Regions from separate parts of the Homo sapiens genome. Here all the other regions are linked to region 5. Evidence: promoter capture Hi-C in 16 types of primary human blood cells and fetal thymus (Javierre and others, 2016). All regions are on one chromosome and are shown on one strand. Each heading gives the region's core, a stretch centred on a gene start or on the middle of the fragment in contact. The rest is flanking DNA. Distances are from core to core; before and after follow the strand shown.

Region 1 (3,680 bases), core at 554-3,053, 420 kb after region 5:
AGGCTGGAGTGTAGCGGCATGATCTTTGCTCACTGCAACCTCTGCCTCCCAGGTTCTAGCGATTCCCTGCCTCAGCCTCCCGAGTTGCTGGGATTACAGGCATGTGCTACCATGCCTGGCTAATCTTTGTATTTTTTTGTAGAGATGGGATTTCACCATGTTGGCCAGGCTGGTCTCCAAACGCCTGACCTCAGGTGATCCTTCCGCCTCGGCCTCCCAAAGTGCTGGGATTACAGGCATGAGTCACTGCACCTGGTCCATATACATGTTTTTTTTTTTTTTTTTTTTTTTTAACTAGCAAGAACATTGCTTATAGAAATTTGCATATAATAATTTGTTCATTTATTTCTTTAGAGACAAGGGCTTGCTCTGTTGCCCAAGCTAAAGTGCAGTGGTGTGAGTGTAGCCCACTGCATCCTCACACTCCTGTGCTCAAGTGATCCTCCCACCTCAGCCTCCCAAGTAGCTGGAACTACAAGGTATGTGCCACCATGACTGGCTTCTTTTTTGGTGTGTGTACAGATGGGGCCTCCATGTGTTTCCCAGCTTGTCTCAAACTTTGAGCCTCAAGTGATCCTCCTGCCTCAGCCTCCCAAAGTGCTGGGACTACAAGTGTGAGCCACCATGCCTGGCCTCACTTATAATAATTTCAAACAGAGGAGTTTGTGAAATTACAAGTTCATTTTAAAGAATGAAGCCTCTAGAAATTTGCCACATTTGAACAGCTGGTTATCTCACTCTTCCTGCTACCACCAGTTGGAAAATGACTCATCTACTCTATGTTATCTCAAGCTGACAAAATAGTTTCAAAACATTACTATCTTTTAACTTTCATTAAATTTATTTTTAAATATATGGATTTATTTATTTTCTAGAGATAAGGTATCACTATGTTGCCCAGGCTGGTCTCGAGCTTCTGAGCTCAAGTGATCCTCCTGCCTTGGCTTCTAAAAGTGTTGGGATTATAGGCATGAGCCACCAGGCCTGGTCCTTTCAACAGAAAAGTTCTACCTATGTCTCCTTAGCTGTGTCTCCTCGAACCACAGAACAGAAAATTAAAAACACCCAAGAATTCGTGATTGAATACATATGTCCCAGAAGATGCTGCAGTGAGTCTCTTGGACAGACCAAGATCAGCTACTTCTGTTCTAAATCGGGCTATATCTTCCCATATAAGAATATTTATTTATATATTTGTTTATTTATTGAGACGGAGTCTCACTCTGTTGCCAGGCTGGAGTGCAGTGGCGCGATCTCGGCTCACTGCAACCTCTGCCTCCTGGGTTCAAGTGATTCTCCTGCCTCAGCCTCCTGAGTAGCTGGGACTACAGGTGCCCACCACCATGCCCAGCTAATTTTTGTATTTTTAGAAGAGAGGGGGTTTCACCATGTTGGCCAGGATGGTTTCGATCTCTTGATCTCATGATCCGCCCGCCTCGGCCTCCCAAAGTGCTGGGATTACAGGCGTGAGCCACCACGCCCGGCCCATATAAGAGTATTTTAAGACACACACTGCAGGGTAATGCATGGGAGGAGACTGGCAAGCCTGCATGCTAATGTTTGCTGAACATCTATAAACATGAGCTGTGTGCCAGGCATTTTACAGGCATTAACCACTCTGATTTTTCAATAGCTGGATGAGGTGAGTACTCTGACTATGCCCATTTTACAGACGAGATAACAGAAGCACAAAGAGGATATGTAGCTCATCCAAGGTCACACAGCTATCAGGTGGAGCATCTGGGATAGAAACCCAGTTATCTTGTTCCAAGAGCTGTTCTCTTGTCCGCTGTACCTGGGAAAGTGCTCCTATTAACTCACTATAGTGATTGGGAAAGTGAAAAGGGGAGCGGAAAATGCTCTGTATAAAAACAAAAGGTAAAAGTATTTGGGGATTTATTAAAAAGGGAAAATTATAAATGCCTTCACTCTGTGAAAGAGACAATTATACTGCCCCATTTCTTTTCTTTTTCTTTCTTTCTTTCTTTTTTCTTTTTTTTTGAGACGGAGTCTTGCTCTGTTGCCAGGCTGGAGTGCAGTGGCACGATCTCGGCTCACTGCAACCTCCACCTCCTGGGTTCAAGTGATTCTCCTGCCTCAGCCTCCTGAGTAGCTGGCACTACCAGCGTGTGCCACCACACCTGGCTAATTTTTTTTTTTTTGTATTTTTAGTAGAGACGGAGTTTCACCATGTTAGCCAAGATGGCCTTAATCTCCTGACCTTGTGATCTGCCCGCCTCGGTCTCCCACAGTGCTGGGATTACAGGTGTGAGCCACCGCGTCCAGCCTATACTGCCCCATTTCTTTGATAAAACTATGTATCTTTAAAGCACTTTTTTTTTTTGAGATCGGGGTCTCACTGTGTTGCCCAGGCTGGAGTGCAGTGGCATGTTCTCAGCTCACTGCAACCTCGACTACCTGGGCTCAGGTGATTCTCCCACCTCAGCCTTCTGAGTATCTTGGACTAGAGACATGCACCACCATGCCTACTAGTTTTTTTTTTTTTTTTTTTTTTTTTTTTTTTTTTTTTTGAGACGGAGTCTCGCTCTGTCGCCCAGGCTGGAGTGCAGTGGCGCGATCTCAGCTCACTGCAAGCTCCGCCTCCCAGGTTCACGCCATTCTCCTGCCTCAGCCTCCCAAGTAGCTGGGACTACAGGCGCCCGCCACTACGCCCGGCTAATTTTTTGTATTTTTAGTAGAGACGGGGTTTCACCGTTTTAGCCGGGATGGTCTCGATCTCCTGACCTCGTGATCCTCCCGCCTCGGCCTCCCAAAGTGCTGGGATTACAGGCGTGAGCCACCGCGCCCGGCCGCCTGCTAGTTTTTAAAAATTTTTTTACAGAGATGGGGTTTTGCCATGATACCCAGGCTGGTCTTGAACTCCTGGGCTCAAGCGATCCTCCCACCTCAGCCTCCCAAAGTGTTGGGCTTACAGGCATGAGCTACCACGCCCGGCCTAAAGCACTTTTTACATATTATTGTAAATAATATATAGAAAATTACTCTTGCTACTTTGAATTGGGTTATTTAATTTTGATTATTTTTATTTTTATTGATTTTTAAAAGCTGTGGTGCATATACATATGACACATATATATCCCTCATGCCCACAGCAAAATATATCTAACTCTGCGATGACGGGGAGAAATCAGGGAGAGCACAAATTCTCTTTGCAGACATAATTTCCGGCATTCACTGCTTTGCTAAGCCCGGGACCAGGCATCCTTTTACGAGCAAGGTGGTGCTGCAATACTCCACATGACCACTGGGTGGCACCACTGTCTCTCGAATAGACACCTGATGGCGCCCTCAATGTTCCTCCCCCTTTTCTGTCCTCCAGAGTCTGTGTTTTGCGTTCTCAAGTAGAAGGTACTTACAGACTGGACCTGCAATTGGAGGTCATTCTTCTCCTGCAGGAGGGAGACCATTTTCTCCTCCAGCTCCTTCCGGCGAGCCTCAGATCGGGCCAGTTCTTCCTTGGTCCTCTCAAAGTCTTCCTTCATGGTGGCCATCTCCTTCTCGGCCTCTGCACTCTTCAGCAGGGGCTTGATTTTGAAGAACAGGTTCATCCAGGGCCAGTGCTTGACGTTCATAAAAGAGCGGATGTTGTACTGGATGCAGAAGATGGAGTCCCTGTACACCCATTAGGACTCAAATTAATAAATCCAGCAAGGTCTGGT
Region 2 (3,945 bases), core at 1,060-3,559, 400 kb after region 5:
AAGTATGGCAGAAGGTGTCATGAGATCTAATCCTTTTCCCATAGGAGGGATCCATGAGAAGAACAGGCCTAAACTCATTGTAGTGGAATAGGACTGGGGATAATTGAAAATAAACATTAAAGAATTTTGGGGGAAGTTCTAACTTCCCTGGTGTTTACTTTTGTTATTCAAAAAGTCTATGGCCTTGTTGTTTTTAGCACCTCCCTAAAAAAAATCCTTTCACATTTAATGGGACCATGTGCCTGGGGAGGATATCCTCGGGTGGTTTGCATAAAGAATGACAGTATTTGGAGGCTTTCCTGCTGGGAAAAGTTGTCTCCTTCTCTTTTCCTCCTCCTCATCCTCCTTTCCTCCCTCTCTTTCATTTCCTGTCTCCCTGGGACAAGAGACATTCGAACAGCCTCCTCCGCAGAGCCCTCCTCCAAAATGTCAACCACTAGTGGAGCCCATTTTAAAATGATTGAAATAAACCACATGGGTCTAAAAGGAAAAGCAAGGGAGACAGGAAACAAAGGGAACAGTCAGCAAAGAAACTGAATAATAACTGCAGGATACGCTCCCAGATAAAGAAAGAGCAGGGATGTCCAGGTGTCGGGGGGTTGAACTTTGCTGGTGCATCAAGCTAAAGGAAGAAGCCCCGATCGCCCTCTTTTGGGGCTGGAGCAAGAGACATACCTGTGCCAGAATTGCAGCCTGCACTGACAGATGAGAAAAGCTGGGGAGGGAAGGAAACCTGAGATTGGGAGAAAACGGAAACTGCAGATTTTATGTAGGATGGGCTGTGTTGATCAAAGTGAAGCTTGGTCCAAAATGTAAATGCATCAAAATGAGTAATTTTATGACTGTAGAGTATATGTTAATAGTTTTTTCCATGTATGTGCGTGCATCTGAATCTGCATAGCAAATGGAATGTGAACATTAACATACATCATTATATTACATTTACTGAGGTGTGAGCATACCAAAATAGATGTGTGTGTGTGTGTGTGTGTGTGTGTGTGTGTGTGTGTGTGTGTGTGTTTTGGGGCATAGGAACAGGTGAAACAGAAAGAGGTGAGAAATGAAGCTCACAGGGAATTTTTCAAGCAGTCCTGAAACTGAATTTGCAATCTATTCATTCAGTGGCCTTTTCCCACCATCTCAGTTTCTGGACTGTGGTTCTGTCCGAGGCTGTCACTTTCAGAGTAACAGTCCTCTCAAAAACTCTACCCGGTTCTCCAGTTTCTGGATCTGCTTCTTCCCGCCCTTCAGCGCCAGTTGTTCAGCCTCATCTAGACGGTGCTGCAGGTCCTTCACCGTCTGCTCCAGGTTCTTCTTCATCCGCTCCAGGTGGGCGCTGGTGTCCTGTTCCTTCTTTAGCTCCTCAGCCATCATGGCAGCCTGGTTAAGTTCACAGGACACATCAGAGGCCCTGTCCGCCCATCCCTACCCAGAGCTTGCAGAAGAGGCGAAGGCTGGGATCATGGTGCTGAGCCTCCCCTGTCTGACTGGGGCCAGTCATTGCTGATTCCCCACAGCCTCCCCTCCCACTTTGCCACTGCTGAGACTGTACCTCATTACATCTGTCTGGGAAGCCACCACTAACCGATTGTTGTCATAAGAGATGAAACATACTTGCCACACCCTGGCTCAGAGGCCCCACTTTCTCAGTTCCAAACCCCATCTCTGAAAAGGAAGAACAGAGCTCACATCCGTGATGGCCTTCTTGGCCTTCTCCTCTGCGTTCCTGGACTCCTGGATCGAGTTCTCCACCTCTGCCTGGCACTGAGCTATGTCAGCCTCCAGTTTTTTCTTGGTATTTATCAGGCTTGTGTTCTACAAGAAGAATTAGATATCAGGGGTGTGGGTTCTATTGGGGCGCTTAAAAAAATTGGGAGAGGGTTGGCTGGGGAGGGAAGTAAATTGTGATCCTGTTCCATTTCTTATTTTTCACATGGGTGACCTGCTGGGTACAGTACTGTACATTCTTTCTTTATTCTTAACTGAACAGAAAGTCCTGAAACAGACCCAAGAATTGTACATGAAAGAATTCAGTAAATGATAAAAGTAGAATTTCAAATATTTGAGGATGGATAGATTATTCAGTAAAAAGTCTTGGAACAAGGAAATGATGATAGACATACTATATGAAATGAAAAATAATTTAAATAATCAAAATATGCCATAAATAGAATTGTAAGGGGTGACGACAAACTGGAAAACATTTGCAATGTACATTACAGAAGAAAATATTCCCTTTCTTAACATACAAATAAGGCAAATCAATTAAAAAAAGGGCAAAAACTACAAATGGGTAAAATACTAGAAGAAATTCAAATGGCCAACAAATGTGATAAAATGTTCCACCTCATTAGCAATAAAAAAAATACTAAAAACTCAGTGAGGTATGTTTCAGCAATAAAATTGGTGAAGATTTTTAAAATAAGAGCTAGAGTATTTGAGAATTTATAGAAGAGAACTCTCACACGTTTCCCCAGTGGAAATAAAAATTGGGACAACCTTGTTAAAGAACAATTTATATTACAAATACTTTTGCTGTTTGGACCTTGAAATTTCATTTTTAGAAATTTATTTACTTCTAGAAATATTAAGATTATAGTAATCATAGAAGTATATGAAAATTTAGTTATGAGGAAGTTCATCAAAATAGTCTTTCTAAAAGTAAAATTTTTATTGAGAACAATCTAAAATAACCACAGAAGACTGATTAAATGAAAGGGCCATAATATACAAGTAGAATAGCCTACTTTTCTGTCATTAAAAATCATATAGAAGACTATTTAAAGATGTCGAAGCTGGGCACAGTGGCTCATGCCTGTAATCCCAGAGCTTTGGGAGGCTGAGGCGGGCGGATCACCTGAAGTCAGGAGATCGAGACAATCCTGGCCAACATGGTGAAACCCCGTCTCTACAAAAATACAAAAATTAGCTGGGTGTGGTGACAAGCACCTGTAATCCCAGCTACTCAGGAGGCTGAGGCAGGAGAATCGCTTGAACCTAGGAGGCAGAGATTGCAGTGAACTGAGATCGCACCACTGCACTCCAGCCTGGCGACAGAAAGAGACTCTGCTCTGTCTCAAAAAAAAAAAAAAAAGATGTCAAAATATGTTCATGATTGTTAAATTCAAAAAAGAGGTTGCAAAAGATTGCTCATACTTTGACTATATATATATGTATTTATTTTTAATTAAAACTTTTTTTTTTTTTTTTTTTTTTGTAGAGACAAGGTTTTGCCATATTGCCCACGCTGGTCTCAGACTCCTGAGATCAAACAATCCCAAATTCCTGGGATTAGAGGCAAAAATATAATATTTATATAATTCACAATGGGCCTAAGAATGAGAGACCCCAGAATGTTAATAATATGCTTGACTTTTTTCTTCCATGTATTTACTTGTTTTTTCTATTTTTTTAAACAAAGGAGTTTTAAAAACTTTTATAAAAATAATTATTTTGTGTTTTTGTTGTTGTTGTTTGTTTGTTTATTTTTTTGGCAGGGTCTCCCTCTGTTGCCCAGGCTGGAGTGCAGTGGCATGATCATAGTTCATTGCAGCTTCAACTCCTGGGCTAAAGCAAACCTCCCACCTTGGCCTCCCAAAGTGCTGGGATTATAGGTGTGGCGCTGAGCCGGGTCAAAAATAATTATTTTGAAATAAAATCTTAATATTCTAAGGTTTCCACTTAAATAGTACTTCCAGGTGCCTTACGTAATAATTAATCCTTCGTTGCTCTGATTTCCCCACAACGTGCAAGATGTTTAATGTTTGGATGAGAGAAAGCTCAGAAATCTGTCAATCAAGAGTCAGTTATTCCAAGAAGCAAGCTTAAAAGAAAATTTGTCTTGACCACTAGTCTGGGAGAAACCGGGTGCTCCTTCCCACGGCGTGGGCCCTGAGTGGAGGGATAGCGGAAGCAGCTGCACGGTGCAGGAGGCGCTATCTGCCC
Region 3 (3,877 bases), core at 1-2,500, 440 kb after region 5:
GCATACCCATGCTTCATGGTCTGGAGAAGCCAAAAAACCTTCTTTGGTGCTTTCACTCTGGTACCAGGAATGCTGGCATGTACGCTCGGTGAGAGCAAGACTCTTGGTCTGTTTGGGGGATGACCAGAAAGTGCTAGGCATAGAGTATGTGCTTAATTAATATTTGCTGAACAAAAGAATATAGGATAAAATTATGTGTGTATAAACCTAGCATACTTTTTTCAATAGGTGTACAAAAAAGTAAAGTTTCATATATAGCCATAAAGTAATGTGAGTAATATTTTGAACAATAATGTCCCAATTTCTCAGTAGCCACCTTAGGAAGATATACTCATTCCAACATGAGCAGTGCTCAAATATTATGGGAATTCCTTTTTAAAAAGTTAATGTCGGCCGGGCGTGGTGGTTCACGTCTGTAATCCCAGTACTTTGGGAGGCTGAGGTGGGTGGATCACAAGGTCAGGAGTTTGAGACCAGCCTGGCCAACATGGTGAAACCCCGTCTCTACAAAAAAAAGAAAAAAAAAATTATCTGGGCGTGGTGGCGGGCACCTGTAGTCCCAACTATTCAGGAGGTGGAGGCAGGAGGATCGCTTGAACCTGGGAGGTGGAGGTTGCAGTGATCCGAGACTGCACCACTGCACTCCAGCCTGGGTGACAGAGCAAGACTCCGTCTCAAAAAAAAAAAAAAAAAAAAAAGTTAATATCTATTCCTGTTTTCATATTAACATCCCTCCAAGAGCCACACTGCTCCATGGTTCCGCCTCCTTGGGTCTTTGGGTAAGTCAAATAGGTAAGAAATGCCACAGTCCTTACTGGGGTTCCATCACATTCTTGGAGATAACTGAGCCCTTGGATTTTAATGACCCGTAAACCTCTTTAAGTGTCAGAACAGATTTAGGACATTCATTCTCTTTGCAAATAGGCATTCAGTTATCTATCTGAAGGCTTGCAGCCTGGGGGCTAGGGGCCCCAATCTGTGAGCAGAAAAGAATCAGAGCAAGAAGGGGAGGGCCCCCAATAAGGAGGAGCTGTCCCAGGCAGCAGTATCTCTCTACCTTCTCGATGAGCTCGATGCAGGCAGCCAGGTCCATTCCGAAGTCAATGAACTCCCACTCGATGCCTTCCTTCTTGTACTCTTCCTGCTCCAGCACGAACATGTGGTGGTTGAAAAACTGTTGCAGTTTCTCATTGGTGAAGTTGATGCACAGCTGCTCCAGGCTGTTGAACTGGGTGATTCAAATACCAAAGAATTTGAGTGAGCTTGGAAAATACATTGGAGATTCAGCAAAGCAGACAAGAAAGTAGAAGGTCACAACTCACATCAAAGATCTCAAAGCCAGCAATGTCCAAGACCCCGATGAAGTACTGCCTGGGCTGCTTGGTGTCCAGCTGCTGGTTGATGCGGGTGACCATCCACAGGAACATCTTCTCGTAGACGGCTTTGGCCAGAGCACCCACCGAATTGGTCACCTTGAAAAAGGATCACCCACTCAACCCTTGAGTTAGTGTTTCTATGGCTGCATTAAGTTGAAACATATGAAATTGACTCGAAAATCAAAAGCTGTTGGCTAGGCGTGGTGGCTCACACCTGTAATCCCAGCACTTTGGGAGGCCAAGGCGGGCGGATCACGAGGTCAGGAGTTCAAGACCATCCTGGCCAACATGGTGAAACCCCGTCTCTACTAAAAATACAAAAATTAGCCAGGTGTGGTGGCAGGCGCCTGTAGTCCCAGCTATTCGGGAGGCTGAGGCAGGAGAATCACTTGAACTTGGGAGGTGGAGGTTGCAGTGAGCCAAGATCGTGCCACTGCACTCCAGCCTGGTGACATAGCGAGACTCTGTCTCAAAAAAAAAAAAAAAAAAAAAACAAAAGAAAAAAAGAAAATCAAAAGCAGTTGAATATTGGCAATTTCAGATCATTCAATGCAATATTAAATATTTTATGAGGTGTTTGCCCAGCTCATGTTGTTCACCTTTCTTTGAGAACTATCCTATTCACAAAGATATTTTTCTAACAACATGGTTATAGCACATGACTCCAGCCCCTGGCCACACTTAATTAGACCAGAGGTGAACACTTGATCCAGATTGGATTAATTGAGTATCTCTCCTAAGAATTTGGAATAGGGATCAAAAGACACTGGTCTCAGTCTCAGGGTGAGGCTGGAAACACAGAGATATAAACTTGGGAGCTATGGGGTGGCCACGGGCAAGAGAGGTCCAGGAAACTTATCTGCCTAGCAAGGACACAACAGAGGAGAGACTCAACAGCCCATGAATCCCAGAGGAGCTGGAGGGAGGCTGCCTGGCTCCAGAGGGCTCTTCACTTTCTAATTCCAGGTCCTCATGGCGTCCAATGGGCACTTAATGATTTGCATTCCTTCAGTTGCCTCTGAAGCCTAAAAATGAACTTCCTCTTAATGTGAAAGCTGATTTCATGTGCATTTCTGATACCTGCAACTGAAGGAGCTTTAAGATAATGGCTCAAATAGCAAAAGATCTCAATCAACTGGATTCAGAGCATCTCCATTACCTGCTGGACATTTTGCCCTTTAGTGACATATTCATTGCCAACCTTCACCCTTGGACAGCACAGGCCCTTCAGCATTTCTGCAGAATTCAGTCCCATCAGGTATCCGGCTTTGTCAGCCACTGAAGGAAGAGAAAAAAATGGCATCATGCAAAAACAGTAGCTGCTAAAGTGTCCAGTCAGCCCCTGGCTTCTCCCAGAAGTGTTTTCTGTAATTTTCTTAAATGTTTTCATGTTGTCATATCTGTACCAGGTCTGGACTTGTTCACTGAAGCTTTAATCCCATATCCAGGGGCCCATGGTTCTCAGGAACTTCCAATTTGCCTCCTAGATGCAGTTTTAACAATAAGATACTCCGTGGCCAATTTTGACCTACTGATATTTCGATTTCATAAAAGAATGTTGATTACAGGCCAGGCACGGTGGTTCATGCCTGTAATCCCAGCGTTTTGGGAGGCTAAGGCGGGTGGATCACCTGAGGTCAGGAGTTCGAGATCAGCCTGGCCAATATGGCCCTGTCTCTACTAAAAATACAAAAATTAGCCAAGCATTGTGGCAAGCGCCTGTAGTCCCAGCTACTTGGGAGGCTGAGGAAGGAGAATCACTTGAACCTAGGAGGCAGAGGTTGCAGTGAGCCAAGATCGTGCCATTGAACTCCAGCCTGGGTGACAAGAGCAAGACTCCGACTCAAAAAAAAAATTAATTAATTACATAGTTATGTTGGAGTCTGACAATACGTTAAAATGTTATATGAGTAAAGGAGCCACCACTTGGACAGTTGACAATATACATGAGGCACCTTCCTAATTTAAGCAAAGTACCATGCTCATAGTTGAAAGAGAAGTACAAAACTTGACCCTCCCTTCAAATGTTTGGAGATGGTCAAAAGCACTTGACTTTTGGCTGTTTCCTACAGTTCATGGGTTATATATTTTCATATATTTCAGCAGACGTTCATTGACTTTGAGAAGGACCTGGGGGCCTGCATTGAGCTCATCAAAAAGGCAGAGAAATGCTGCTCCCCAGGGACTACTTCTTTTTTTTTTTTTTTTTTTTTTTGGAGACAGAGTTTCTCAATGTTGCCCAGGCTGGAGTGCAGTGGCGCGATCTCAGCTCACTGCAAGCTCCGCCTCCTGGGTTCACGCCATTCTCCTGCCTCACCTCCCGAGTAGCTGGGATTACAGGCACCCACCACCAGGCCCGGCTAATTTTTTTTTATTTTAGTAGAGATGGGGTTTCACCATGTTGGCCAGGATGGTCTTGATCTCCTGACCTTGTGATCTGCCCACCTCCCAAAGTGCTGGGATTACAGGTGTGAGCCACCTTGCCCAGCCCCCAGGGATAA
Region 4 (4,162 bases), core at 282-2,781, 360 kb after region 5:
ACTGCTAATGAAGACATACTTAAGACTGGGTAATTTGTAAAGGAAAGAGGTTTGATTAACTCACAGTTCCACATGGCTGGGGAGGCCTCATAATCATGGTGGAAGGCAAGGAGGAGCAAAGTCACATCTTACATGGTGGCAGGCAAGAGAGAGCTTGTGCAGGGGAACTCCCACTTATAAAACCATCAGATCTAGGGGCCGGGTGCAGTGGCTTATGCCTGTAATCCCAGCACTTTAGGAGGCCGAGGCAGGCAGATCATGAGGTCAGGAGATCGAGACCATCCTGGCTAACACGGTGAAACCCTGTCTCTACTAAAAATACAGAAAAAATTAGCCGGGTGTGGTGGTGGGTGCCTGTAGTCCCAGCTGCTCAGGAGACTGAGGCAGGAGAATGGTGTGAACCCAGGAGGTGGAGCTTGCAGTGAGCAGAGATCGTGCCACAGCACTCCAGCCTGGGCTGTCTAAAAAAAAAAAAACCATCAGACCTTGTGAGACTTATTCACTACCATGAGAACAGTATGGGGGAAACTGACTCCAAAATTCAATTATCTCCTGCCGGGTCCCTCCCACAACACATGGGAATTATGGGAGCTAAAATTCACGATGAGATTTGGGCGGGGACACAACCAAACCGTATCACCAAGTGACCACCCAGACACCTACCTCAGGCAACAGAACACTAAGCACTTTGACACCCAAGGTTGGAAGCTTTGAGCATTCTCAACTCCTGGCTCTTCCACATCAGATAAGTTGCAAGTTGTTTTTCCCTCTTCGTGCCCACAGCCACATCTCTGGTCTGGGTTTTATTACTTTATGCCAGTGATCTGCACTGTCTTCTCAGTTCATCTCCTTGCCTCCTGTCTTCTCCTTGAGTATAGCCATGGCCAATGGCTTTGTCTTGTCCCAGGACTGTGTGCCTAATGAGACTGGGTGGCGACGGGAGAGTGGTGTCTCCTGGGTGGATGCATCAGAATTTAGTTGTGCCTGGATGTGTTACTGGAATGACCATTTTACAACCATCCAAGAATAAGCCAATAGTAAGTGTCGTGAAAGGAGCATGCGTATTAGAGGGGTTGATTATGCTGTGCCTGCAGCCTGCCTCCCCATCAACTTCCAGTTAGGTGAGACAATATGCGTTCTTATGGTTTGTGATTGAGTTTCTACTATTTGCAGCAGAGAGCATTGCCACTGCTAGTCATTTAGCTGAAATACAAATCCAATCATTTTCCTCCTCTGTGGTTTTGTATTGTCTTTGGAATCAAGCTCACATTCCTTAATACAGTTCACAAAGCTCCCGATGGGCTCATGGTTTACTGGTCAGGCGTGGTTCTCAGTATCTGCTGTCTACCCTTTTCCCCAAGGAACTTCAGGTCGTCATCAGACAATCCTGCTTCCTTTTCCCCATACACACCTGCATATCTATGTTCTTTCTTTCCTAGAACATTCTTTTCCTCCTTCTCCATCTACTATACTTCTACTCATCTTTCAAGTTTAGCTCAACTGACAATCCTTCCACAAATTTTTTCCTAATCCCTCCAGGCAGAATTAAGGAATCTCTTAAGCGTTTCTGAGCACTTTGTGTCTGTGTTATGGTGCTTTCTGCAGCCTCATACACAATCACAGGCCACCTATGTTTCTGCCTCTTTGCTAAAACATGAGCCCCTTAAAGACAACGACTATGTTCCATCCACCTTCTAGCTTAGTGCCTGTGCCTTGTACCGGACAAAATGATCCTGTAAGTACTAATGAAATGTTCATGAATTCGTTCAGATTGCAGGTAACTTAGCATGTGCTTATTAACTGTTATTTATTTTTATTACAAATAAAGCAGTATTATTGTCAGTAATAATGTCTTTAGGATTTTGCAGTTCATGAAGCTCTTTACTATACGCTATCTCAATTAACACAGTATTTATTTTTAAATACTTATTTATGTATTTATTTACTTTGAGACAGGATCCTGCTCTGTTGCCCATTCTGGAGTGCAGTGGCACCATCACGGCTCACTGCAATCTCTGCCTCCCAGGCTCAAGTGATCCTCCCACCTCAGCCTCCCAGGTAGTTGGGACTACAAGTGCATGCCACCATGCCTGGCTAATTTGTTATTTTTGTACAGATGAGGTCTCACTATATTGCCCAGGCTGGTCTCAAAGTCCTAGGCTCAAGCCATTTGCCCACTTTGGCCTCCTACTGGGATTACAGGCATGAGCCGTCATGCCCAGCCCCACAATATCTCTATAACACCAACGTTGTCCCCACTTCCCAGATGAGGAAACTAGGCACCCAGTTAATGTATGTATATTGGTTGGATGCCTATAATTTGCATAATACTGGGCAAGAAGCCAGCTGTGAAGGAAGCTTGCAAAGAAGTAAAAACCAGAGTCTCCCTTCTCACAGTGTTTACAATTTACTTGCGGAGGTAAGAAATCATGCAGAATATTTCCATTAAAAGAGACAAGAGCACTGGAAAATAACAGTGAAGAGATGTTGAAGACAGCAATTTACTACATAATAAAAGAACACAGGCCGGGCTCGGTGGCTCACGCCTGTAATCCCAGCACTTTGGGAGGCTGAGGTGGGCAGATCACTAGGTCAGAAGATCGAGACTATCCTGGCTAACACGGTGAAACCTCGTCTTTACTAAAAATACAAAAAATTAGCCAGGCGTGGTGGCAGGCGCCTGTAGTCCCAGCTACTCGGGAGGCTGAGGCAAGAGAATGGCGTGAACTTGGGAGGCGGAGCTTGCAGTGAGCCAAGATCACGCCACTGCACTCCAGCCTGGGTAACAGAGCGAGACTCTGTCTCAAAAAAAAAAAGAAAACAATGAAAATAAAAATAAAAGAACACAAAACATAAGTACCATAAGAATTAAGATGGAACACTATGGTCTGACAGTGGAGGTCCATGAAGAGTCTTCCAAAAGAGAGCCCAGCTTGGATTTTAAGGATTAGTGGGATTTCACAAAATGAAGAAGTGGGCAAGGCATTCCATGTGAAAAGTGAAGTCTTAACAGGGTGCAACTCCTTCTCTGCTAAGCAAGGAAGAAGATAGGATAGTGAAAGCCCCAAGGAAATGAATGGATATATTTGTGGCATGGATAGATGGATAGATGGATGGATAAATGGATGGATGAGTAGATGGATGGATAGATGGGTGGAAAGACAGGTGGATAGGAGGATGAGTAGATGCGTGGATGGATGAACAGAGGAGTAAATTCACAGCTTGTAGAGGATGGCGCTCATTTTACCAAAATTGTCTCCAAACACAGCAGCATCATGATGAATTGTATTCTCTTTACAGAACAGCTTGGTTTAACTTGTCCAGATGAAAGAAAGGCATTGTAGAAATCCATAAACACTTGTTGAATTAAAACATTTGAATGTGGTCAGAGCTACAGAGAAATGCCTGGGCTTAGGATGCAATCAGGCCAGTGTGGCCTTTCGACATTATGTGTGGGTGTGTTTTCTCACAAACACATGTGAAGAGACACAAACAAAACTTTGTCTGAGGTTTTTATTTTCCTTTTTACTGTGAGATGCCAAACTTCTGTTTTGACTGGATTGTCACTTTCCAACTTTTCATGTGTGGGAGCCCAAAGCCCCATGAGTTGGCATGAATGAGACACTTTGACTCATAATGATGGTGGAGGCAACTGTTCATGTGACTGGGATAAAAGATGTTATTCAGCTGGTCAGGGAAATGATCACACTTGATGGGAAAGTGAACTTTATTCCTCAATCCCATTCTTATATCTCATGAAATTGTATCCTGAGTCAACGGTCTTATGTGATCAAGATGAGATGTGAGTTGAGTTGGTCTTCCTCTAGCTTTTTTTTTTTTTTCCTTTTGAGACAAAGTCTTGCTCTGTCGGCCATGCTGGAGTGCAGTGGCATGATCTCGGCTCACTACAACCTCCACCTCCCAGGTTCAAGCAATTCTCCTGCCTCAGCCTCCTGAGTAGCTGTGATTACAGGTGCCCACCACCACGCCTGGCTAATTTTTGTATTTTTAGTAGAGATGGGGTTTCACCCTGTTGGCCAGGCTGGTCTCGAACTCCTGACCTCAAATGATCCACTTGCCTTGGCCTCCCAAAGTGCTGGGGTTACAGGTGTGAGCCACCATGCCTGGCCTCTAGCTTTTAATTTTTAACAACTAATGAGTC
Region 5 (4,049 bases), core at 669-3,168:
GGAGAAGGCGTGTTGGGAACCATATGGAAGCCTGTGCGCCTCACAGGGAAACTGTCAGGAGCCGGGGAGCCACGCCGCGCGTGGGAAGCGGGGGCTCATGCGTGGTGCCATGATCCGCCCCGCGCTGGGGAGAACATGAGGACTAGAACTCAGAGTTCATGCCCCCAACTTTGACCTCTTTCTACTTTATATTAGAAGCATATTGTGTGTTTAGAATGAACAGTGATTCAACTTGAATGTGTACTGCTGAAAATTTCAAAGGACATTTTAATAAAGGAAGGAAGAAACAAAGGATGGAGAGAAAGAAAAAATGTAAATATAGTCACGTGTCGCTCAGAGACAGGAATACATTCCGAGAAACACATCTTAAGGCAACTTCTATGTGGGAACATCATAGAGCATCCTTGCACGAACACAGATGGTAGAGCCGACTACATCCCTGAGCTCCATGGTCCAGCCTTTTGCTCCTAGGCTACAAACCTGTGCAGCACGTGACTGTCCTGAATGTTGCAGGCAGTTGTCACACGATGGTAAGTATTTGTGCATCTAAACATAGCTAAACATAGAAATCATGCAGTAAAAATACAGTATAAAGATAAAAAATGGGCCGGGCACAGTGGCTCATGCCTGTAAATCCCAGCACTTTGGGAGGCTGAGGCTGGCGGATCGCTGGAGGTCGGGAGTTTGAGACCAGCCTGACCAACATGGTGAAACCCCGTCTCTACTAAAAATACAAAAATTAGCTAGGCATAGTGGTGCACACCTGTAATCCCAGCTACTCGGGAGGCTGAGACAGGAGAATTGCTTGAACTCGGGAGGCAGAGGTTGCAGTGAGCCAAGATCGCACTATTGCACTCCAGCTCTGGGCTACAGAGTGAGACTCCATCTCAAAAAAATAAAAAATAAAAAACCAAGATACAAAATGGTAGACCTGTCTAGGGCACTCACCATGAGTGGAGCTTGCAGGACTGGGAGTTGCTCTGGGTGAGTCAGTGAGTGAGTAGTGAGTGAATGTGAAGAACTAGGACATTACCGTACACAACTACAGACTTTACGGATACACTTAGGCTACACTAAATGCATTTGAAAAATAAAGTAACTGTGCTATGACGTCACTAGGCAGTAGGAATTTTTCAGCTCCATTACAATCTTATGGGACCACAGTGGTCTATATCGTCCGTTGTTGACCCAAACATCGTGAAGCCAAGCATAACATGGCTGTATTAGGAAACACTCAGATTCTGCTCCGGGAAGACAACGAAGCTGTGGGCAAGTGCCCACCCCTCTATCAATATCAGCATCTCGGAGCACCACGCTCTCAGAGCCAGTGGCCCGCATCCCCCGCTCCACCCACAGATCCACTCCCTCTGCAGCAGCTGCAGCAGGGGACCCCCAGCCCGGAGCGACCCCGGCACCGCCCAGCCAGAAGGGGAGAGGGGAGACTGACCATGACGATCTCCAGCACTTCATTCTTGCTGATGGTCCCGTTACCGTCCACGTCGTAGAGGGAGAAGGCCCACTCCAGCTTCTGGTTGGTCTTGCCCGCGGTGGTCATGTGCAGGGCGATGACGTACTCCTTGAAGTCCAGGGTGCCGTCGAGGTTGGAATCGAAGCTGCGGAACACATGCTGGGCGTAGGCCTTGGGGTCGGTGTCGGGGAAGAACTTGGCGTAGATGCTCTGGAACTGCTGCTGGGTGATGCGGCCGGTGGGACAGTCCTTCAGGAAGGACTGGTACCAGGAGCACAGCTCCTCCTCCGAGAACTTGGTGTTCAGCTGCAGCTCCTCCAGGATCTCCTTGGACAGGGCCCCACTTTTGCTGTTCCCCATGAGTGAGGAAGAGTGGGCAGCGGCTGGGGAGTCGCTGGGTGGGTGGGACGTGCGTGGTCCCCTGGCCGCAGGCTGGGCTCAAGGCTGGTGTGAGCTGAAGACCGAGATGCTGGTGGCTTAGGAGGATTTGCGACCAGTTCTTCGCAATCCTTGAAGGGAGGAGGGGCCCAGGAGCTTTGTGGAGGGCGGGAGCGGTGGGGGGGGGTGCTCCCAGAACCCTAGTGAGATTAAAATAAAGAGCCCAGGGCAGGCAGGCAATTCATCTCGGCCTCCCGGGACGATACTAGAACAGGACAGGAGGTTGGAACCCTCAGAGCTGGGGCCTCCGGCACCCCCAGCCCCAGCCCTCTAACAGCAGCCATGTTCCCTGTTTCTCTTCCTCACTAACTCTGAGCATCTCGGGGCGGGGCTGGCATCTCATATCAAGCCCTAGAATGCAATGGTTAGGAGCACAGACTCTGGGGCCAGCATGGGTTCAAGTCCCAGCTTGGCTACTTAACTAGCTGTGTGGCCCCAGGCTTGTTTCTTCACCTCTTTCCACCTGGGACACTCTTCTAAACCTTCACTGCAGTCATGTCTCTGCTTAAATGTCACCTGCTCAGCCAGGCCTATACTGACCCTCTATCTATAATAGCACAACCCCCACCATCATCGGCACGCTGCATGTCCCCTCACCGGAATGAAAGCTCCGTGAAGGATGGGATTTTGTCTGTGTTGTTCCCGGATGCATTTCCATTGCCAGAACCTGATAGGCTTGGGCCCCCAGCAAGTCTTTCTTGAATAAATGGGCATCATAGCATCTACCACACTGTCATTGTGAGGCTGATGTGAGTCAATATGTCTGACACACTTAGAAACTGGCACATGGCTAATGCTAAACACTCGTTTTGTTATTGTCCATCAGTCACAGGGAGTGAAGGTGAACTGCCTGAAGGGACCAGCAGGGGGCAGCCAGGCCTGTGTCACCTCGGGAAGGGGCTGCCAGAGAACGTGGTCACATGGGATGGTGAGATTTTTGGGTTTTTTTAAATTATTCAAGAGAAATCCAAAAATCAGAATTTTTCTTGCAATTTCCACACTTTTCAACTTTGGCAATTAATTCAAAATTTTAATGGTGGCTCACGTCTGTAATCCCAGCACTTTGGGAGACTGAGTGGGGAGATTACAAGGTTAGGAGTTCGAGACCAGCCTGGCCAACATGGTGAAACCCTGTCTCTACTAAAAATACAAAAAATTAGCCGGGCATGGTGGCAGGTGACTGTAATCCCAGCTACTTGGGAGGCTGAGGCTGGAGAATCGCTTGAACCCGGGAGGCAGAGGTTGCAGTGAGCCGAGATTGCACCATTGCACTCCAGCCTGGGTGACAAGTGTGAGACTCCATCTCAAAAAAACAAAACAAAAACAAAAACAAAAACAAAACAAAACATGGTGTGGGCCAAACACAATCTATCTGTGGGTCCATGGCAGGCTGCAGGGTGTCCGTCTGCAGTGGACTTGGAGTGAGCAGGCAAGAAAACGTGTTTGCTGAGTGAATGGATAAATAACTGAGTGGTCAGAGACGGAGCTGTGCAAAGGCAGGCTTCGCGTCTGTGCAGCTCAGCGGGGAGTATCAAGCACGAGGAAGCAACCTAGTGAGGACGCTGCACACCTGGATTCTTGTCACCCAGAAGGAAGGGAGGGTGGGCGTGCACTTTCCTTAGCGGAGCGCAGTGCTCGAGGGGACACACTCAGAACCCCAGCCTTGCCACCGTGGATGGAGAGTTGTCTCTTTTTGCCCTGGGGTGAGAATGATGAAGAATAAACCCCACGGTCTCCAGGCAGGTAAACTGGTTTTTTTTTAGACGGAGTCTCCCTCTGTCACTTAGGCTGGGCACGATCTTGGCTCACTGCAACCTCCGCCTCCTGGTTTCAAGCAATTCTCCTGTCTCAGTCCCCTGAGAAGCTGGGACTACAGGTGTCTGCCACCACGCCCAGCTAATTTTTTTTTGGTATTTTTAGTAGAGTCGAGGTTTCACCATATTGGTCAGGCTGGTCTCGTAAACTCCTGACCTCAGGTGATCCGCCCGCCTTGCATCTCAAAGTGTAAAGTGGGGATTTTAGCCTACTTACTAACAGGCTAGTGGCAGCAGAAGGTAGGTCCCTGCTGCTGGGAGAAAGCCACCTGCCAGGCCCACCTCATGTCACTCTGGAAGGACCGAGAGGTTCAGGCACCAAGGGGCAG
Region 6 (3,836 bases), core at 451-2,950, 380 kb after region 5:
TTCATAAGTCCCCATTAAATATTTCTTCCTGAGAAACTGGATTGGTCAGGCTCTTTGTTTTGCTTCTCAGCTCCCTTGGCCTTTGGGTGTGGGTTTGCATAGACCTGCTCACCTCAGAACACTCTTAATGAGAGTGTTTTATGATTTTTCTCATAGAGGTCTTATACATGCTTTGTTTGATTTACTTTTAAGAACCTGATTCATTTTATTTAATTAGAAACAGCATAGTTTTAAAAAATAATTTTCAACCTTTGAAATTATCTGATGCTTGTATATACAAGTACAATTTACTTTTGTATTTTAAGTCAAAAAAATTTTATAGCCAGGCGTGGTAGCTCATATCTGTAATCTCAGCACTTTGGGAGGCCAAGGTAGGAGGATCATATGCGGCCAGGAGTTTGAGATCAGCCTGGGCAACATAGTGAGAGCCCTGTCTCTACAGACAAACAAGCAAACAAAAAAATTAGCTAGCTAGGCTTGGTTGTGTGTGCATGTAGTCCCAGCTACTTGGGTGGCTGATGTGAGAGGATTGCTTGAGCCCAGGAGGTCGAAGCAGCTGTGGGCTGTGGTCATGCCACTGCACTCCAGCCCAGGTGACAGAGCAAGATCCTGTCTCCAAAAAAAGAAAATTTTAAACCAACAAAAATTATAAATAAACCTTTTACTTGGGAATAATTTTAGATTTATGGAAAAATTGCAAATATGGTACAGGGAGTTCCTGTATACCCCAAACACAGCCTTCCCTAATGCTAACATCTTATGTAACCACAGTACATTAGTCAAAAAGTAACAGGTCGACATCAGTACATTACTAACAGGTAAATTCCAGGCTGTATTTGGATTTCACCAGTTTTTCCACTAGTCTTTTTTTCTCTTCCAAGAGCCAATTCAGTATACCTCATTGCATTTAGTGTACTTTGATTTTTGAAAACAGCTACCTTGCGGAACCCTGTTATTAATTCTAATATTTTATATATTGATTCTTTGGAAATTTCTTTGTATACAATCGGCAAATAATAATTTTGTTCTTTCCTTCCCAGTCTTTGTATTTTAAGTGTCTTTTTCCTGCTGTATTGTATTAGGTAGGACTTCTAGTACCTTGATGAATAGAAATAATGATGGTTGGCATTCATATCTTATTCCTGATCTCAAAGGAAAAGCTTTCAACATTTCCTTAATATGATGTTTTTGTAAGACTTTTCTAGAGACTCTTTCTCACATCATGGAAGTTCCCTTTTATTCCCAGTTTAAGAGAAAGCATTTTTAAAAATCATCAATGGCTATGAATTTTATCAAATATATATTTTCTGCATCTATTGAAATGATCACATGAATTTCTGCTTTTATCTGTTTATGTAGTGTATTAACTCGAATAGATTCTCTAATGTTAAATTAAATTTAAAATCCTGGAATAAATCCAACCTTATATCAGGTTATATTATTTTTTTTATATATTGCTGAACTCAGTTTGTTAATATGTTTTTTAGGATTTGTTGCATCGATGTTCTTATGTGAAATTGACCTATAATTTTTGCTTTGATATCAAGATAATACTGGCCTCATAAAATAAGCTGGGGCATGACTTTCTTGTCCGCATTCCTCCTCTGGAAGAGTCTGGGTAAAACTGGAATTATTTCTTCCTTAAACATTTCACTCTCATCAGTGTTTAAAGCCAAGAAATATAGCAATCCCGGCCAGGCACCGTGGCTCATGCCTGTAATCCCAGCACTTTCGGAGGCCGAGGCGGGCAGATCACCTGAGGTCGGGAGTTCGAGACCAACCTGACCAACATGGAGAAACCCCGTCTCTACTAAAAATACAAAATTAGCCGGGTGTGGTGGCGCATGCCTGTAATCCCAGCTACTTAGGAGGCTGAGGCAGGAGAATCGCTTGAACTTGGGAGGCGGAGGTTTTGGTGAACCGAGATCGCACCATTGCACTCCAGCCTGGGCAACAAGAGTGAAACTTTGTCTCAAAAATAAATACATAAATAAAATAAAATTAAATTAAAAAAAAGAAATATAGCAATCCTGACATGAGTGTTTCACAACCATCTTCACTGCACTGTTTTTTTCCAGTGCCGCGAAGCATCTCCTCATGTATTACACTAGTCATTTACAGTAATGAATAGAGCACAGATGACAGCTTCTCCGCGCTGGGCTCTGTAATGCTGGAAGCAATGGGAAACCGCAGATCATTTATACCAGTCTTCCCTTAAGCCTGGTGGATAACTAGTTTTTGTAAGCTTGCAGGATATGCGATGGGGGGATGCCCCCACGTGCTTGTTTTTTTCAGGGGAGGAAGAAGACAGGGGATTATAGAAAGCGAAGGTACAGGGCCCCTAAAACCAGGACAGCAGCTAAATTCACATTCCCTCCAAAGCTATTAGTGGACATATTGGCTGGGAGCAGGATCAGCATAGTAGTGTGGGTGTGTAAGGAGTTCTCCTTGTTCTGTAGTTCTAGGAGTCTCCCTCCATCCCTCTTTTCTCCCTACTGGCTCAGACATGCTCAGCACCTTCAGTGATGGGGAGACCTCTACAGTCATTTGTTCGGGAGAACAGGATGTGACACTTCCCCTGGCATTCTAGGGGAGCTGTCCAGGGCACATTCCAGGAAAGGAAGTGGGAGGTTTCCTTTTCCCTTTTCCTCCACTGAACCCTGGGCATGTTTACTTCACTGGGGACAGGTTGAGGCTATGCTGAGAGAGGAGTAGAAGGAGATAACTCCTGGCCACAATAGACTTCTTCAAGATTTAGCTAAAAGGTTTCCCAAAGTTTGGTCTCTGGACCCCTTTACACTCTTAAAAATTACTGAAGACTCCAAAGAATTTTCATTTATTTGGGTCCTATCTGTTGAAATTTACCATACTAGACAATAAAACTGAGAAATTACAAACATTACTAATTCATTTAAGATAGCAATAATTAATGCATTACCTTAATATAATCTATTTTTATGAAAATGACTATTTCCCAAAACAAAACAAAAAATAGTGAGTTGAAAGTAGTATTGTCTTACATTTTTGCAAATCTTTAAAATTTCTGGCTTACCAGAAGATAGCTGATTCTCAAGTCTGCTTCTGCATTGAATCTTTGAGCCTTTTTTTATGGCTGAGTAGTATTCCATAGTGTATATGTACCACATTTTCTTTATCCAATCCACCATAGATGGGCACGTAGGTTGATTCCATGTCTTTGCTATTGTGAATAGGGCTGCAGTGAACATACAAATGCATGTGTCTTTTTGGTAGAACAACTTATTTTCCTTTGGGTGTATATCTAGTAATGAGATTGCTGGGCTGAATGGTAGTTCTAAGTTCTTTGATAAATCTCCAAACTGCTCTGTATTTTTAGTAAGACAAGGTTTTGCCACGTTGGCCAGGCTAGTCTCAAACTCCTGACCTCAAGTAAACCTCCCACCTCAGCCTCTCAAAGTGCTGGGATTATAGGTGTGAGCCACCGCGCCCTGCCTTGCTGGAGTCTTTAGGGTTTTCTAGGTATAGTATCATATTGTCAGCTAAGGGAGATAATGTGACTTTTCCTTTTCCTATGTAGATGCCTTTTATTTCTTTCTCTTGGCTGATTGCTCTGGCTAGGACTTCCAACTACATTGAATAGGAGTAGTGAGACTGGGCATTCTTGCCTTGTTCTTGTTCTTAAGGGAAATTCTTCCAGCTTTTGCCCATTGAGTATGAAGTTGGCTGTGGGTTTGTCATAGAAGGCTCTTATTATTTTGAGGTATGTTCCTTTCGTGCCTAGTTTGTTGAGGGTTCTTATTATAAAGGGATGTTGGATTTTATCAAAAACTTTTCCTGCATCTATTGAGATAATCATA
Region 7 (4,000 bases), core at 1,302-3,801, 470 kb after region 5:
CCGTCTTTAATGCATCTTAAATAATCTCCAGTTATATCCTAAAATTCTCACAATTTCTTAAAAAATTAAAGTATTACATACTATATTCTGAATCCTCAATTTAAAAAAATATGGAGGCAGAGCTACAGAAATTCTAATATCAGTTCTGTTAAGTAGCTGGTATGATTTCTTTGGGTTTCTGTTTCCTTCCGTAAAATGAATCAGATGCACCAGAAAATCTCCAAGATTCCTTTCAGCCCTATGAGTCTATAACAGACAGTTCTCCGTAGAGATGGTGGCCTGAATTCAAAGTATCACAAATCTCTGAGGGATGCTATTGCACTGTCAGACACAGTCCAGTCCCAAGTCCATAAAATATGCCATGTGAGAACAGTCTGCAAACCAGTCAATTCATATCAGACTATGACACTTTGTAAGATGGGTAAGATGCTTGGGATTATTTCCTCCCACAACCATTTTTCAGAAATCCTGACATGGGAAACAAATTAAATAAACATAAAAATTTCAAATAATAGCTTAAGCAATCACAGAAGAGATACCACAAGTTACCAAGTTAATTTGCTAACTGAACAGTATAACATTGACCTAAATAATCAGAGGAGGAATCATGCATTATACTCAGTTTTGTTCTGCAGGTGAATATTTTTTGTCTTATAATTGCTTATATTCTTGTCTTTTCACCCCTTGTAAAAGTTTCTTGAAAGGCAGTTGTCTTGTCTTTCCATCTTGTCTCCAACCTTGCCCTCAACACAAGACCTTGCACTTAGTAGGCCCTCCGTAAAGGCTACTTTATTGTCTTCCCCCCTTGACTGGTAACCTGATCAGGTGCAACTATAGCTACGTGGAGCAAAAAAGTGAGCACTTGTGAGCACTTACCTAGAGATGCTGCGGTCACAGCAATTTCAGGAGTGTGACCCCCCAGCTCTCTTTATACTCCCAAATCTGCCAGCCCAGCACTCTAACTTGGCTATATTTGGGGGAGCACCATTTACTTGTTAGATGTAAATGCGTCGTAGCCCTGATCTCTCACTCTTGTTAAGTTACTTGGATAAATGACCAGTGGAGGCTGCATAATGCCAAGTCAGCTGCATAGGGATTTTGACGTTGGACACAGATCTTTGAGACTTAGAGAGTCCTAGGGGCTGAGTGGAACTGGAGCAGAGTGTGCTAAGAAGGTCACTGAAGGGCAGAACCACAGGATGCTTTGTCAAGCAATGGGTGATCAGTAGTGTGGACAGTAACTACACCTCATTTACCCAGCATTGGTATGGGATGGTGTGCTTCTCATCTCAGAAATCTCTGGAAATTTAAGGTTGACCTTTTAACACATCCAGTCTTATTTATGTATTTGTTTGTTTAAAAATCTACTGGAAGAAAAGCTTTCCAAAATGTATTTTACATTATCCTGCTCTGTGTAACCTACTATCTTGAATAGAATTTAAGTTTTTCTTGATCACTCTGGGGGTCTGGGAGATGATATAATAAAGTCATCAAGGATCTGGTTCTTAGTGGATCATGCCTGCACTAATTGTTCCTGCTGTGAATTTTGGTGTATACTTTTATTTATTATTATTATTATTATCGAAACAGAGTCTTGCTCTCTCCTCTAGGCTGGAGTGCAGTGGCGTGATCTTGGTTCGCTGCAAACTCCATTTCCCAGGTTCAAGCAATTCTCTTGTCTCAGCCTCCCAAGTAGTTGGGATTATAGGCATGTGCTATAATCCCATGTGTTATATATAGGCATGTGCTATAATCGCCCAGCTAATTTTTATATTTTTAGTAGAGACAGGGTTTCACCATGTTGGCCAGGGTGGTTTCGAACTCCTGACCTCAAGTGATCCTCCCGCCTCGGCCTCCCAAAATGCTGGGATTACAAGTGTGAGCCACCACACTTGGCCTTACTTTTTAGATTTTCTGTCTTTGCCTTCATGGCCAGCCTCTCAGGTATAATTTCTTTCTGTGGTAAGTTTGTCTTTACTAGCCTGATTTTGTATTATTGATTGGGAAAGAGATTACAAAATTAAGATCAGGCTAAAGTAAGAGTAAATAAGTTCTGAGTGCAGCTCTAGTGGGTTCTAATGAAAATACGTGGACTTTGTGACAATTATAGTTACTTAGGAGTTTTTTTATTTTTTGCTAAAATATAAGTGATGTTTGACTATGTAGGAACAACTGTATATGTAGAAGTTAGAGCCATTTACTGCAATACAGTGTGATCTGTTTAAATTGTATATAATCAGTGTTTGTTGAATCAAAGTTTCCTTAATCAGTCTCCAGTGGGTAGAATTTCATGTAGGTAGGGCATTTCCAAAAGATAGTTTGCATTAATCAAAGTGAATTTTAGACCAGAGGAGGAGCAGGTAGAGATAGGACTTCCACAAAGTATTTTCTCTTCCTTCCTTCCTTCCTTCCTTCCTTCCTTCCTTCCTTCCTTCCTTCCTTCCCTCCCTCCCTCCCTCCTTCCTTCCTTCCTTCTTTCGTTCCTTTCTTTCTTTCTCTCTCTTTCTTTCTCTTTCTTTCTTTTTTTTTTTTGAGACAGAGTTTTGCTCTTGTTGCCCAGGCTGGATTGCAATGGCGCGACCTCCGCCCACCACAACCTCCGCCTTGTGGGTTCAAGCGATTTTCCTGCCTCAGCCTCCCGAGTAGCTGGGATTACAGGCATGTGCCACCAGGCCCAGCTAATTTTGTATTTTTAATAGAGACGGGGTTTCACCATGTTGGTCAGGCTGGTCTCGAACTCCCGACCTCAGGTGATCCGCCTGCCTTGGCCTCCCAAAGTGCTGGGATTACAGGCATGAGCCTGGCTTCCACAAAGTATTTTCTAAAGTAGATTTGACAGAATGCAGATTGGGAGGGTCGCTTCGAAATAAATGGTCCTGTGGTTAAATGAGCTTAAGAAATGTGTTAAACTCTATTCCCTCCTGTTAGAGATTCATCATAAATATTAGCATATTAAGGGATGTGAGAAGCCCTTCAGTAAAGAAATATGAATACTTTTTTTTTAGACCTGGAACTTCCCTAGGTGATTTGATGTTGGAACACAAACTTATTTATTTCCTGTTCCAGAAAACAAGAGAGGAAAGGCTGAAGGACATAATCCATAGCAAAGTTCTGGCCCAGAAGAAAGCAACCGAGAGTGATCAGCCCTAAGCACAGTTGCTTTTATTTGAGGTGCAGCCTTTTGCATGTAGCAGATGCTCAGTAAATGTTCGTCCTGGTGAATAAATGAATCAAGATGACTCATAGGGGAGTCATCCTGACTCATGTGTTGAAAGGCCTGAAGTGATAAGAAAAGAATGGAATCAGACTCTGAGTTTCATTTAATGGTAATAATTAAGACTTAAGAACTAGGCTGGGTGCAGTGGCTCACACCTGTAATCCCAGCACTTTGGGAGGCCGAGCCGGGTGGATCACTTGAAGTCAGCAGTTTGACATCAGCCTGGCCAACATGGTGAAACCCCATCTCTACTAAAAATACCAATAAAATTAGCCAGGCGTGGTGGTGCACACCTGCATTCCCAGCTACTTGGCAGGCTGAGGCAGGAGACTCGCGTGAACCCAGGAGGTGGAAGTTGCAGTGAGTGAAGATGGCACCGTTGCACTCTAGTCTGGGCAACAGAGAAAGACTCCATCTCACATAAAAAAAAAAAAAGAAAGAAAGAAAGAAAAGAAAAAAGACTTAAGAACTCACCACATGCCAGGCTTTATCCATATTGATTCACTGAAGCTTTATAATAGTCCTGTGAGGTAGGTGCTAATATCATTTCTATTATACAACTACTGAGAGTTTAAGCAATCTGCCCAAGGCCATACAACTAGTCAGCAGCTGAAATGAGTTTCAAGTGCTCTCTGGCTCTAGAGCCTATGCCTGTAACATCTCGTTTTTGGAAATGCATCATGTTTGAGTGCCTACTTGGTATTAGACTCTGTGCTGGGAATGGGGAACAGGGGTATGAGCTAAGATCACTGCCCCAAAGGAGCTGACAATGCAGATGGGAAG

What was found. The method cuts DNA at HindIII sites, captures the fragments that hold promoters and counts their contacts. A CHiCAGO score of 5 or more calls a contact.
Region 1: a fragment that was not itself captured here is called in contact with the fragment with the promoter of RCVRN in region 5 in 8 of 17 cell types (neutrophils, monocytes, naive B cells and 5 more); the score reaches 10.0 in neutrophils.
Region 2: a fragment that was not itself captured here is called in contact with the fragment with the promoter of RCVRN in region 5 in 5 of 17 cell types (M0 macrophages, naive CD8 T cells, neutrophils and 2 more); the score reaches 7.5 in M0 macrophages.
Region 3: a fragment that was not itself captured here is called in contact with the fragment with the promoter of RCVRN in region 5 in 4 of 17 cell types (monocytes, M0 macrophages, M2 macrophages and 1 more); the score reaches 8.5 in monocytes.
Region 4: a contact is called between a fragment that was not itself captured here and the fragment with the promoter of RCVRN in region 5, in 3 of 17 cell types (monocytes, neutrophils and M2 macrophages). The highest score is 7.1, in monocytes.
Region 6: a contact is called between a fragment that was not itself captured here and the fragment with the promoter of RCVRN in region 5, in 4 of 17 cell types (monocytes, neutrophils, fetal thymus and 1 more). The highest score is 10.5, in monocytes.
Region 7: a fragment that was not itself captured here is called in contact with the fragment with the promoter of RCVRN in region 5 in 2 of 17 cell types (monocytes and naive B cells); the score reaches 6.1 in monocytes.

Annotation. Positions count from the first base shown.
Region 1 is chr17:10,324,489-10,328,168 of GRCh38, forward strand. It overlaps MYH13 (myosin heavy chain 13), which reads right to left. Exons shown (of 41, transcript NM_003802.3): 22 at 3,378-3,633. All of the region lies in intron 4 of LOC107985004 (a long non-coding RNA gene), which reads left to right. Among named protein-coding and RNA genes, the nearest start is that of MYH13, 47 kb to the right of the region's middle. The HindIII fragment of the contact is 3,903 bases long and covers 1-3,680 here.
Region 2 is chr17:10,305,250-10,309,194 of GRCh38, forward strand. It overlaps MYH13 (myosin heavy chain 13), which reads right to left. Exons shown (of 41, transcript NM_003802.3): 36 at 1,690-1,815; 37 at 1,210-1,380. The region is part of intron 1 of LOC107985004 (a long non-coding RNA gene); the gene reads left to right. Among named protein-coding and RNA genes, the nearest start is that of MYH13, 66 kb to the right of the region's middle. The HindIII fragment of the contact is 3,024 bases long and covers 798-3,821 here.
Region 3 is chr17:10,344,145-10,348,021 of GRCh38, forward strand. MYH13 (myosin heavy chain 13) reads right to left here. Exons shown (of 41, transcript NM_003802.3): 13 at 2,536-2,654; 14 at 1,323-1,472; 15 at 1,058-1,228. Among named protein-coding and RNA genes, the nearest start is that of MYH13, 27 kb to the right of the region's middle. The HindIII fragment of the contact is 3,108 bases long and covers 1-2,804 here.
Region 4 is chr17:10,266,916-10,271,077 of GRCh38, forward strand. No RefSeq gene overlaps it. Among named protein-coding and RNA genes, the nearest start is that of GAS7, 70 kb to the left of the region's middle. The HindIII fragment of the contact is 1,650 bases long and covers 707-2,356 here.
Region 5 is chr17:9,903,353-9,907,401 of GRCh38, forward strand. RCVRN (recoverin) reads right to left here and starts at 1,919. Exons shown (of 3, transcript NM_002903.3): 1 at 1,448-1,919. The coding sequence starts at 1,828. The HindIII fragment of the contact is 11,305 bases long and covers 1-4,049 here.
Region 6 is chr17:10,283,954-10,287,789 of GRCh38, forward strand. No RefSeq gene overlaps it. Among named protein-coding and RNA genes, the nearest start is that of MYH13, 87 kb to the right of the region's middle. The HindIII fragment of the contact is 1,085 bases long and covers 1,159-2,243 here.
Region 7 is chr17:10,372,103-10,376,102 of GRCh38, forward strand. It overlaps MYH13 (myosin heavy chain 13), which reads right to left and starts at 904. Exons shown (of 41, transcript NM_003802.3): 1 at 877-904. The HindIII fragment of the contact is 2,348 bases long and covers 1,378-3,725 here.